Regions from separate parts of the Homo sapiens genome. Here all the other regions are linked to region 2. The links are contacts of gene promoters, found by promoter capture Hi-C in blood cells and fetal thymus (Javierre and others, 2016). All regions are on one chromosome and are shown on one strand. The core of a region is centred on a gene start or on the middle of the fragment in contact, and the rest is flanking DNA. Distances in the headings are between cores, read along the strand shown.

The links. Contacts are between HindIII fragments. The CHiCAGO score rates a contact against its expected background, and 5 or more counts as called.
Region 1: a contact is called between the fragment with the promoter of UBE2G2 here and the fragment with the promoter of SLC19A1 in region 2, in 8 of 17 cell types (fetal thymus, total B cells, M0 macrophages and 5 more). The highest score is 9.0, in fetal thymus.
Region 3: a contact is called between the fragment with the promoter of SUMO3 here and the fragment with the promoter of SLC19A1 in region 2, in 4 of 17 cell types (neutrophils, monocytes, activated CD4 T cells and 1 more). The highest score is 7.9, in neutrophils.

Annotation. Positions count from the first base shown.
Region 1 is chr21:44,800,147-44,804,093 of GRCh38, reverse strand. UBE2G2 (ubiquitin conjugating enzyme E2 G2) reads left to right here and starts at 2,274. Exons shown (of 6, transcript NM_003343.6): 1 at 2,274-2,388. The coding sequence starts at 2,346. It overlaps LINC01424 (long intergenic non-protein coding RNA 1424), which reads right to left and starts at 1,853. Exons shown (of 2, transcript NR_109928.1): 1 at 1,458-1,853; 2 at 1-347. RefSeq lists silencers at 1,656-1,705, 2,206-2,425, 2,486-2,545 and an enhancer at 2,093-3,048. The HindIII fragment of the contact is 6,659 bases long and covers 160-3,947 here.
Region 2 is chr21:45,540,282-45,544,314 of GRCh38, reverse strand. It overlaps SLC19A1 (solute carrier family 19 member 1), which reads left to right and starts at 1,875. Exons shown (of 6, transcript NM_194255.4): 1 at 1,875-1,947. RefSeq lists silencers at 1,602-1,681, 1,722-2,031, 2,382-2,441 and an enhancer at 1,235-1,747. The HindIII fragment of the contact is 3,738 bases long and covers 1-2,605 here.
Region 3 is chr21:44,816,205-44,819,937 of GRCh38, reverse strand. It overlaps SUMO3 (small ubiquitin like modifier 3), which reads left to right and starts at 1,876. Exons shown (of 4, transcript NM_006936.3): 1 at 1,876-1,990. The coding sequence starts at 1,970. RefSeq lists silencers at 1,265-1,364, 1,385-1,964, 2,145-2,344. The HindIII fragment of the contact is 14,551 bases long and covers 1-3,733 here.

The sequences.
Region 1 (3,947 bases), core at 1,025-3,524, 740 kb after region 2:
AAGCATTAATTTTATTCTGTACAGTTGGCCTCCCCAGGGTGTGCTGCCCTGCAGTATCACACACTGGCTGCTCAGAGTCCCTGGGACTCCACTACCACTTGATCCAAGTTGAGAGTTCCACGAGTTAGCCAGTTAAAACATAGGATGCCCAGCTAAGCTTGAATTCCACATAAGGTACTGAACGACGTCCCTGAAATGTTGCAGAGAGCCTGGTTCTCTGAAGATAAGGTGTTGTAACAGTCCTGTTGAGGGGAGAGACTGCCATCTTGTTTCAGCAACTCATATTTCAAGTGACTTTTGTCACTTGAAGCTGAAGCTAATCCTGATAGAAGCTGTAAACCACATTTCTGAAAAATAATAATTGGAAAACATACAGTGTTCTGCAGTAAGATGTCTGAAAAAGATGGATAAAATTATGAAAACATCAAGCATATGTTGCAGTGAACATCACGGCATTGACAGTAATGCTTTATTGCCCACATCTCCCATAACTGGAAAAGGGGAGCTGCTCTCCTTTAGGAGCACTGGACAGACTGCCTTGGGGTGTGGGGTGCTGTCTGATTAGAGAGAGAGCAGCTCTTGAATGGGGGAGGAAACACCTCCACTGTGACTTTTTGCACATTGCATTTGCACAAATTACTCTCTGAAACAGTCTCAAAGGACCATGTCATTTTATAAAGCACTGTGGTCATTTGAAAAGATGGAGGTAGACTGAAATTTTGAATTTTGGGGAATTTTCCTACACTATGCATACTTGTGAAGTTTGTATTGTTAAATTTCATTTGATTTGACAAATCCGTGTTAAGAGTATACGATGTCCAGGTACAGAGGCTGCCCCAGAAACAAGACAGAAGTAGGCAGGGACCCATGGCTCTCATGGAACACGCTTTTGGTTAGAGGCAACAGATAAGGGTAATACATTTATAGCATGCCAGTAAGTTCTATAGTACGGTGTGTTGAGTAGGTGTTGCAGAGAAAAAGGTATGCGGTGAAGGCCGGGTGGTGACGGCCTAGGCCACACTGAAGAGGCAACATTTGAGCAAAGACTGAAAGAGCAGGTGGGAAGAGTCGGGGACAAGAGCCGCCAGAAAGTGTTTCCGGGGAGGGAAGAGTCAGGGACTCTGAACCAGGCCAGGGCAGCTGGAGTGGAGTGAGAGGGAGGGAGGGTCTGGGAGTATGGCGGGGTGACCGGAGGCAGAGCAAAGCACTGCAGGACTTCAGCTTTACTGAGTGAAATGGGCGGAGCAGAGTGTGAATGTGATCAGACTTCTTTTCAAGGGATCATCTGCAATGCTGGAAAGGAAAAGACAAATGATAGATTATTGCAACAAACAGCCAGGCAAGAGATGCAAACTTTTTTTGCAAAGGTGTGTGTGTATATACATCCTTGCACCGGACAGCCACGAAGCACCTACTGTGCTGTGAAGTCAGTAAGGATGTGGGTTAAAATCGCTCACCTCACAGCGGGTCAATCGGGAAAGCACACCCACTCACTACAGCCATTATGGGAAAAAGGGCTCGCCCCTTACAGGATCCTCAACTGTGGAGAGGCCGGGAGCCCACGCGGGGCGCTGGGGAGTCTCTCAGCACCCCAGGGGTTCGGGCAGGGACCTGAGCCGCGCCCTCTCTCCCGGGGGTGCCCTGGGGTCGAGGCTGCTCGGCAGAGCCGGCGGTCAGTTCGAGCCGCGGGCCCGAACAGGGCTCTCCCCGCGGCTCTCTCCCTCGGAGTAGAAGGTGCTGGACCCGAACTCCAGCGGAGCCGCACAACACGTGGAGGAAAAGCGCCAGGACAGCTAACCTTCCCACCTTTTCAAACCTGAAACCCGGCCGGCTGGGGACGGTTGGAATGTTCAGTGCGTACCCGCACCTCAGGCCCCTTGTCTCCAGCCCCAGACCGCCCCGCGACCATCCTCCCCACCCCCCGACCTCTTATCTCGTCCCCGCCCTGTCTCCCCAACCTCCATCCTCCCCTCCACAACCCCCGTCCTCCCGCCCTTCGGCCACGCGCGGCTGGCACAGAACAGGCAGTTAGCGCACACACACTGGAACAGGCGCCACCGTTCAGGAAGTCTCTACAAGACCAGGACCCTGAGGCCTCTGGAAGTGCCGGGACCGAACCAACCCCGCAGAGCGACTAAGGCGAGGGCAGGAGCCAAGAGAATCGTAGCCGCGGTCGCGGGTTGAGCTCCCACCACCCGGACAGCGCGCCTCGGCGATCGCGCACGCGCCACGCCCCGGAAGAGTTCCTGGGCCCGCGACGGTGGCCCGGAAGCAGTCCCCGGTGTCGGGGCAGGAGGCACGCGCGCGGCTGAGGCGAGGTCGCTCGGCGCAGCTGTTGCGGGGCCATGGCGGGGACCGCGCTCAAGAGGCTGATGGCCGAGTACAAACGTGAGTCTGGGGACCCGGGCCGTCAGCAGCGTCCCGCGTTCCTGCTCCCGGGCCCGCGTCGTCCGGCGGGGCTGGGGCAGGGAGCCTGGCGGGGGAGCCGGGCCCGGGGCCTCCACCGTGAGCCCCCCTGTGGGTCCCGCGGAGTGCCGCGCCCTGCGCCCGCTGCCCACTCTCACGCGTGAAGTCGTGAAGAGAAGCCTTCCCAGCATCAGTAAAGGCAGCGCCGGCGCCGTGTTAGTTGAGAGCACACACAGTTGAGTCTTTGCGGGCTTGTTTTTTTCTCTTCTATTTTTTCTTTTCTTGGCAGCCTTGAGAACGTGCAGTGAGAGCTTGAGGAAGAAGGCCTGACTTGCTGCTGCGGAATTAGGAGGGAAAAGTGTATGCGTTAAAAGGGGAAAGGCTCGTTGGTGGAGCTTTGAAAGGTCAGATTTTGGCTTTCCCTCTAATGAAGGAAAAGGGTTTTTGAACAGTGCCACCTGTCACTCCTCCTAGGTAGTGTTGAGGAAACCTCTTGAGTGCTTTCCTACCCGGTAAATTAGATATTTCTAATGTCTGAGGAGAGCGAAGGGAGAAATGAGAACCTAGGAACACTCGGCATTCCATCGTTTTACACCGAATGCCCGCTTGGAAGAACTGCTGCGAGAAGTCTTGGAATACCATTGTGTTGAAAGCGCCAGGAGCCTGAGTCGCCGATGGAGACGAGATAGTAGCCGGCTAAGAGCAGGGCCTGAGTTCAGACCCGGCCTCTCTGCTTGTTAGCTCTTTGACCTTGTTCCTCTCTCTGTCTCTGCAGTTTCCTTGTCTTAAAAGGTTAAACTTGATACTGCAGGTGAAGTGCTTAGCAAAATACCTGATGTGTAACCCTTAATAAAGTTAGCTGCTGCTTTTGTAATTAGATTGAGGATAATTTTGGAAGAAAGTTAAGCTAAAAGAATGAATGTGAGAAAAAAAATAAGTGGTGAATATACATGTAGCTTGATTTCGTAAAACTATTGGTGACACCGCCCAGTAAGAGTTGATGTTTGGCTTAAGCAGACCAAAACGTTGCAAATACAGGCTCACTCACGTATGGTCATTCTTCCCTTGGTATCTGGAGGGGATTGGTTCCAGGCCCCGCTGCAGATACCAGAATCCTCGGATGCTCAAGTCCCTACTATAAGGTGGCGTGGTATTTGCATTTAATGTATGCATAGCCTCTCATAACTTTTAAATCATCTCAAGGTTACTTATAGTACCTAATGCAATGTAAGTGCTGCACAAATAGTTACACTGATTTTTTTTACTTGTATTTTTAAATCGTCATTTTTTATTGTTATTTTTTTCAAATATTTTGTATTCCTGGTTGGTCGAATCCATGGATATGCAGCCGCAGATACACAGGGCCTCCTGTAAACGTTCAAATAACGCTCGCCACCTAGTGTCTGCTAAAGCAGAACATAAAGGCACACCTCAGTTTCCCGCGCGCTTTGCTTTATTGAGCTTCACTTCGCAGATCTTGCATTTTTTACAAGTTTACAAGTTTTTTACAAGCAACCCTGCATGGAAGCAAGTCTGTTGGC
Region 2 (4,033 bases), core at 626-3,125:
CTGTTGGTGGCAGAAGCCCTACCTCCCCACTCCGAAGCAGCTCCTGCAGGAAACCTGGGCCTTGTGTGGCTGGGGAACTCCCAGGACTCCTGCCACGCAGGGGGACCCGAGGGCAGCTTGGGCAGGCCCCTCGCGGCCGGGGGCGGATTCGCTCGGCTACACCTGACCGGAGAGACAGGTGAGGGACTGGTCTTTGTGGGTCCTGCGGGGTCCCCTTGGGGCTGTGGCTCCCTGCCTTGCTGTCTCCAGGCGGGAAGGGGGTGGGAGCCATCCTTCTGTGGGAAGGGGTCTAGGAGCCCCGCTGCTGTTCATCCCCACTTCCCCTCGGCTTCCTGGCCTGTCCTGCGTGTAAAGGGAGCAGGCTGCCCTGGCGAGCTGGCCCCATGGCTGGCTCCTCTCTGCCTGGAGGGAAGGAAGGGCCCCTCCTCCTCCGCGTTGCCCCTCCTGTCTTCCAGCAGGGCCAGGTTCTGCCCACCCGTGGAGAAGGCCAGTACAGGGGAGAGAGCCAGGGCTCCCACAAAGCAGGGGGTCCCTCCAGGTGAGGCGCTCCATCCTGTAGTGTTCCCTTAAATTCTGCAAGCTACCCCAGATCCCCCATTTCCAGCCAACAAATCCTTTTTAAGTTCCTTTGAGATTTGTTCGTGTGGCTTGCTACACTCAGGACTCTGGAAAGAAGGCCCAGGCCAGAGCTTTGGGCAGGCGGCCATTTAGGGCAAGGGCCCTGTGTTGGCTTCCTGGTGGGGTTGCCCTGCTGGTGGGCGGGAGACCAAGAGCACCCCCGCAACACCAGGAGGCAGGTCGCGGATTGTGCTGTCTACACTCCGGAAGGGGTACATTCCAGGGGCTGCTGCCCCAGACTCACCCCTCGCCTGGGACCCGCACTCTTGAGCTGTGGGTACCACGGTGGCCGTCCCCTTCTGTTCTGTGCAGTGGACTTCCTGGCTCCTCCTTAGCCTTGGGGCCCCCACAGCCCTCGGCTTGGCTTCCCTCCCCATAGCCAGGCCCTGGGTAACTCCAGGGGAAAGTGACCCTGAGGCCCCCCACTTCTCCCCGTGTCCTGCACAGGCCTTGGGCTTTCGGCGGTGCTGTCTGCCGCAGCCCCACGCCTTCCTGGGAGAGTGGCCCAGGCCCCCCTTCCTGAGTGTGACTGCGCTGCCGTCTGCGAGGCCTGCGCGGGTCTCCCCCGGGCTGTCCCTGCTGGGATGGGGACTGGTGGCCCCGGGCCACGTCCTGGATCCGGCTTGCTCCTTGGTACAAGCCCGTACGGGTCACGGTCAGGCAGGAGGGCGGGCGGCGGGGTCCCGGGGGCGCCGAGTTCGGGGCCGTGCGGTCCCCAAGAGCAGGCTGTGCGTGTCCCTGTTGGAGCCCCACGAAGGCGGCCCAGGGCCACCCCTGAGGGCGCGTGGGCCCGACCCGCGTCCCGGATCCAGCTTGCGGCCAGGAATGCAGGTGTTCCAGGGTGCCAAAAGGAAAACGCACAAGGCCTCGTCGAGGAGGGGGGGTCAGGAGGGGACCGGGGGTGGGAAGAACGCGGGGGAGAGGGATGGCAGGGTGCCCGCCCGAGGGACCGACACCTCCGCGAGTGGCACCCCAGGATGCTGACGCCGGCGGGGGTGGGGGCCCGAGGGGCGGTCGGGGTCAGGGGGCGGCCCCAGGGGTAGGGCCGCAGCACGAGGGGCCGCGTGACCCCGGCGGTGACCGGGTGGGGAGAGGCCGGCGCCGGGGCTGGGAGACGGCCGTGGGTGGGAGGGTGCCCCGTGGGGACGCTCCTGCCGCAGCGCCCGGCCACGCGCGAGGCCCCGCCCTCAGGACGCGTTCGGCGGGACGGACCCGCCCACCCCGCAGCCGCGCGCCCGCCGCGCCGCCTTGTGGGCGCTGTAGTCCCGGAGTCCGCGTGCGCGGGGCCGGGTCCGGGAGCCCCAGGGCAGCCGCCCCGCCGAGTCGCAGGTACCGGTGGGGAACGGGGCCACGGGGCCGCGTGTCGGGGGCTGCGGGGTGTCTCGGGGCCCTGGGGTGAGTGCGGGGCGCGGGCCGAGGTTTGCAGGGCCCTGTGAGGTGAGTGTGGGGGCTGGCGCTGGGGTCCGCGGGGCCCTGGGGAGGGTGCGGGGCGTGGGCCGGGGTCTGCGGTCTGCAGCCTGGGGTCCGCGGGGCCCTGGGGAGGGTGCGGGGCGTGGGCCGGGGTCTGCGGTCTGCAGCCTGGGGTCTGGGGGGCCCTGGGGAGGGTGCGGGGCGTGGCCGGGGTCTGCGGTCTGCAGCCTGGGGTCTGGGGGGCCCTGGGGAGGGTGCGGGGCGTGGGCCGGGGTCTCCGCGGGGGTCGCGGTGGCCCGGGCGCCTGGCAGAACCGTTGCTGTGCAGCGGGTTTCCCGCCGCTCGCTTTCCGCCGCAGCCTGCGAATGGGGTGGGGAGTCCCGGCCCCCAGCCTGCCCTCCGCGTCATCCTGGGGCGCCAAGTCCCACCCCCGGGTCTGGAGGAAAGCGTGGATCCGGCGTTCGCGCCCAGGCACGTGTTGCTTCGGGACGGGCCAGCCGGTGGGTGAACCCTGCCAGCCACGCGTGGGGCGGGCCCCTGGCACATCTCCAGACCATTGTCTCCTGTGCCAGAAGCTTTGTAGGTGCAACTTCCCCTTGGAGCAGCTGTGGGTGCGGATCCAGCGGAGCAATCCCGAGGCGTCTCAGAGAGAGCCTGGACAGCCGCTGGAGCCTTTCCCGAGTGGGTCCTTCCAACACCGCTACAGCAGGAAAGCCATCCCCCTAGGGTCCTGTCCATCGGAAACTCCTGTCCTGGGGAGTCTGGCCTGCCTGGCCTCAGGACACAGGCCAACTAAGCTGGCCCCGAAATCCAGAATGCATCCAGAGGGAAGGTGGGATAAAGTCCTTGGAGGCGCCTGTTGGCCGCCCTGTAAAGAGGTGGCCTCCCCCTACGGAGACCCGAGGATCCCCGCACAGCCCAGATTCAATCAGCAGAGCCGAGGTGCCTCTGGCCCAGTGCACCTGCCTGCCCTGTCCAGGCCTGGGAGCCAGGCTGCATCTCACTGGCCGCCTTTGCCTGGGTGCCACCTGTGCACTGCTTGTTGCAATTGCTAATTGCTTTCTTTCCGAAGGGGCTTTGGTGGATTTTTATAATTCCAGATAGTACAGTTATCTCTGCTGGACACAGATGAGAAAGAGTGCTTCTCGGGTGTTTGGGCCTGCAGCAGTGATAGCCGGAGGGTCTAATTATGCTGTTAGGAACCCTGAACTTGGTCATCTGAACAGGGGTGGGAGGGTGTGCAATGCTTTCTTCTTCTTCTTTTTAAACTAGCAGGCGTTCTAAAAAACATAACGAACATTCTTGGTTAGCCTTCCAGAGTAGGAGCTGGTTTAAACACGGAATGATAGGTGGCGTTTGCTTGTGTTTTGATTGCGGGTCTCTGGCCTTCTCTGGTGCTTGGAAGGACAGGGCCTGGGTGGGGCTGGTCACTGTGGACAGTGGGGCCGGGGATTTGCAGGGGCTGTTACAACCTTCTCCTGAAGGCAGGGATTCTCTCTGCTTCCCCGTGGCCCTCCTGTCTGGTCGGGGACTTCCTTCAGATGCCGGGAAGAGGCCTCAAGCTGTATGGGACTGGGCTGGGGTCTGGACACTTGGAGTCTAGGCGTCCCCTGGCTTGGGGCTGCGTTTCTATGATGGTGACCAAGTTCCCTATCTTTCCTCTTGGAGGTGGTCTGGGCCGTGATGGCCAAGCCTCTGTCAGTGGGCTACGTTCACGGCACATAAGTTGAGTATGCTGGCAGCAGAGGCTGACTGTTAAGACCAGCAGCAGCCCCTTGCTGGCGGAGACTCTGGCTGTCTCTCCAAGGAAGGAATGTTCTGGTCGCTTCTGGAGGTGGCACCTTTCAGAACAGGGGGCCCAAGTACCCAGGGCTCCCGGGCCCCTGGGGGTCCTGTGGGTGGGGATCTGACTCCTGCGGCCATGGACTGTGGGCGCAGACCCTGGGCTTAGTTCAGCTCCTGATGGCTCCCCGTTGTCTGCGGCGATCTGGTTGCTCTGGTTGTC
Region 3 (3,733 bases), core at 627-3,126, 720 kb after region 2:
TTTGGCTGTGTCCTTCAGAAACCTCTTGGCGTTCGGTCCACCAGCGGTGTCCTTTGTGTCCCCACAGCTGCGACAGAGCCTTTTTGCATCTTTGCTGTCACATGAAGGATTCGGGGCAGGTCACAGTGTGGGAGACAGACACAGCATGAATTGAATTCAGACCACCATTGTCTTATAGCCTGGCTTTTTAAAACCTAATGTCATCTGAGCCTCTTTTTCCCTTATCCATGACTGTAGTCACGCATCACTTCGTGACACAGCAACTGGCGTAATTTCGAGCGGTAACACATTTGGGTTCTGTGTCTCATGATTTCTAAGCTGCGTGTTTCTCACTTCCACAACACTGAAGCGGGCTGCCGTCATCCACAGCCTGCCGGAGTTTAGTGTGTCTGTGCTACCTACGGTCGTGTTGTTTTATGATTAACGGTGTCTTGGAGTCGATAACTCTCTGAACCCTGCCTGCCCTAGGGCACTTCCAGGGCCAGCAATCTGTGGGCTCTGAGGCGCCACGTCCCCTCGGAAGGGGCTGGTTGCGGAGCCCCCTCCCAGGACCGTCTGAGCTGGCCACCCACCTCCACATCCTCTGCTGAGGCCCTGGGCTCCAGGTTCCAGAAGGAAGGGACCACACCTTATGACCTGCCTGGGACTGGGGCTGACTCTCAGACCCTCTCCCCGAAAGACTTCAGCAGCCTTCCCCCTCCTAAGTGGGGGCTCTAGCCAAGAAAGTGAATTTTTGAGTAGAAGACGGTTTGTGAAGTTATGGTCCATGAAGACTTGTCTCCATGGCTTTGCGACGTTGCTCAGTTGGCTGAGCCTTTCCCAGGCAGGACAGAAACGGCTCAGACGCTTAGGTTCAAATCCAGGCCCTGCCATTTCCCAGCTGAGCCTGAAGTGCGGCCTCCCCCGCCTTCGGCCGGGCTCACCATCAGATGAGACCTCCGCCACGCCCCGGCTGGCACCACCCGGGCACTCCTGAGGGACGCAGGGGTGTCCGCCCTCAGGTCCGTTCCATCCGAGGCCCTGGGATCACAGACATGGAGGCCGGGGCGGGCCAGGCACCCCAGGAATGGCGCCCGCAAGTCCGGGGAGGCCGTCCTGCCGGCCCAGCGCGTTTCCCGCGTCCACGAGGTCCCCGTTCCGCCGGCACTGGCGGCGTCCAGCCTGGGTTTGCCCGCGCTCGCCGACGTGGCGGCCTGGCCAAGCTCGGCGCCGCTCACCAGCGCTGACCTGGGGGTGGTTTGACCTCCCAGTGCCTCAGTTTCTTCACAGGTAAAACGGGTCTTCTTGAGGACGGGTGTGGAGGGCCCGGGGCAGCCCCGTAGGAGCGTTGGCCAAAGGAGCCCGGCCTGGGGCTGACAGGAAACCGCGGCGGCAGGGAGGCGGGTGGCGCCCCCAATCGTCTAGGGTGCTGGCCCGATTCGCGCGGCCCCCGCGGACGGGACCCCGCGGGCCGCCTTCTCCGCTCTGTCCGCGGCTCCTGAGAGGGAACGTCACCCCCAGCGTCCTCCCTCCTCCGCCCCAGGTCCCTGCGGCCATGGGCGGCGGCCCCGGCCTCACTTCCCGGCGCCCCAGGAACGCGGCCCCCAGGAAAGGAGTCGGGGCCCGGGCGACGCGGGGAGGCGGGCAAGGGTCCCCAGGGCCCGGGCTCCCCGTAAACGCTCCTGGCCCGCGCCCCACAGCGCCCTAGGGCTTCCGCGCCCGACGGGGTCGCGCGGGACCCGCCCCGTGACGCATCTCCAACCGCCCAGAGCCGCGGCCCGGCCTGCGCGCGCCCGACGCCCCGGGGAGCGCGCCTCGTGAACGCGCGCAGCCACGTGACCCCCGTGCCGGCCAACGGGTGCGCCGGGATTTGGGGGATAAAGCGCGGCCCCGCGCACAGTTGCGGCGGGAGAGCGGCGGGGCCGAGAGCGTGACTCGCCCGCTCCGCGCTGCTTCCCCCGCGCCGCCTCCCCGCGCCGCTCGCGCAGCCATGTCCGAGGAGAAGCCCAAGGTAAGCGCGGCGACCCCGCCTGCACGCGCGTCTATCGCGGGCGTCCCGCCCCCAGCCCGGCTCCGCCCCCACCCCGACTCCGCCCCGCGTCCCGCCCCTGACAGGCTCCGCCCCTCCCCGCCCTCTAGAGCCCCGCCCCTAAGTGGGCCCGCCCAAGGTGCGCCCCCTCTGCCCCCGCGAAGCGCGCTGTGCCGCGAGCTCCGCCCCCTCCGGGCCTGGCCACGCCTCCGCTCCACGCCCGTCTCCTCCCCAGCTGGGAAGGCGCGCGCCCAGCGCCTCCTTGAGCGCCCGGTGTCGGGCCCCGCGCTGCTGCTCCTGCAGAGCGCGGCGCCCTCGGATCCCGCCCCAGCAGTGTCCCCGAAGCGTCTTTGCGTGCTCCTCTCCTGAGTCATTGCTGGTTGGGGTCGCCCTCTCCCCCGGCATCGCCCTGGGTGCGGGATCCTGTGTCGAGTGCACGGAGTCGGCTCGGGAACAAGCGTCTGGGGTTACCCCCAAGGGGCGCGCTCTGAGGGGCCTGGCCCCTGTGAGCAGCACTGCCGTCCTTCCAGGGCGCCCATCGCGACCCCGGTATTCACCCACTTCTCCGCATCGTGTCCCGGCCATCGCGTCCCCCAGTGTGCGCCCACCCCTCTCCTTCGTGTCTCCCCAATCGTGCCCTCAGTGTGCACCTACTCCCACCCATCGCGCCCCGTGTGCACCCACCGCCTCCATCGCGTCCCCCGGTGTGCGCCCACCCCTCCCCATCGCGCCCCCCGGTGTACGCCCACGCCTCCCCATCACGCCCCCCATGGTGTGTACCCACTCCTCCCCATCATGCCACCTGGTGTGCGCCCACCCGTCCCCATCATCGCGTCCCTGGTGTGCGCCCACCCCTCCCTATTGCGTCGCCCTCTCCATCACACCCCCAGTGTGTGCTCACCCCTCCCCGTCGCGTCCCCCAGTGTGCGCCCACCCCTATCCATCGCGTCCCCCTTTCCATCACACCCCCAGTGTGCGTCCACCCCTCCCCATCACCCCCTCCACGATGTGCGCCCACCCCTCCCCATCACGCCCCCTATAGTGTGTGCCCACCCCTCCCTATCACGCCCCACGGTGTGCGCCCACTTCTCTGCATTGCGCCTCCCCCACCATGCGCGCCCACCCCTCCTTATCCAGCCTTGGGTGGGCTTTAGTCTCCCCCATTGCCATGCTGGGGTGTGCCTCCCTCCAGTCTCAGTCCTGGGGTATGCACCCTGCATTCAGGTGCACTGGCCATTCCTTCTCGGGAGGGTCTGTAGTCGCATTCTCCAGTGTTCATAAAAAGAGAACCTTTCCGAAGCCCTTGGTGTGCACTGTCGGCCTCTATGTTACATCCCAGTGGAAGATGACTAGAGCTGAAGGCTCTGTAAAGAGGCTGTCTCTGATACTGGCCTGGTCCTGGAGGTGACCACCCTCCCTTTACAGATGAGGGTGGAGGCTCAGTGCCAGACACTGGCGGGAAGTGGGATGGAACCGTCAGGAACCATGGTCGCGGCCTCTATGGAAGTCTGCACTCTGCTTGCTGTGGTCAGACTCCAGGGAAACCTGCCCTATCCAGATGGCATTTGGGGTGACCTTTGCTTTTTACATTTTGACTCCAGTGAAGTCAAAGTTCTCCCACTCTGGGGTTGTTTGAATATTTAAATACTTGTTAAAACTAGGTCAAATATAAATGTCCTTTATGTTTTTGTAGGTGGCTTCCTCTTAATGAAGAGTAAATGTAAT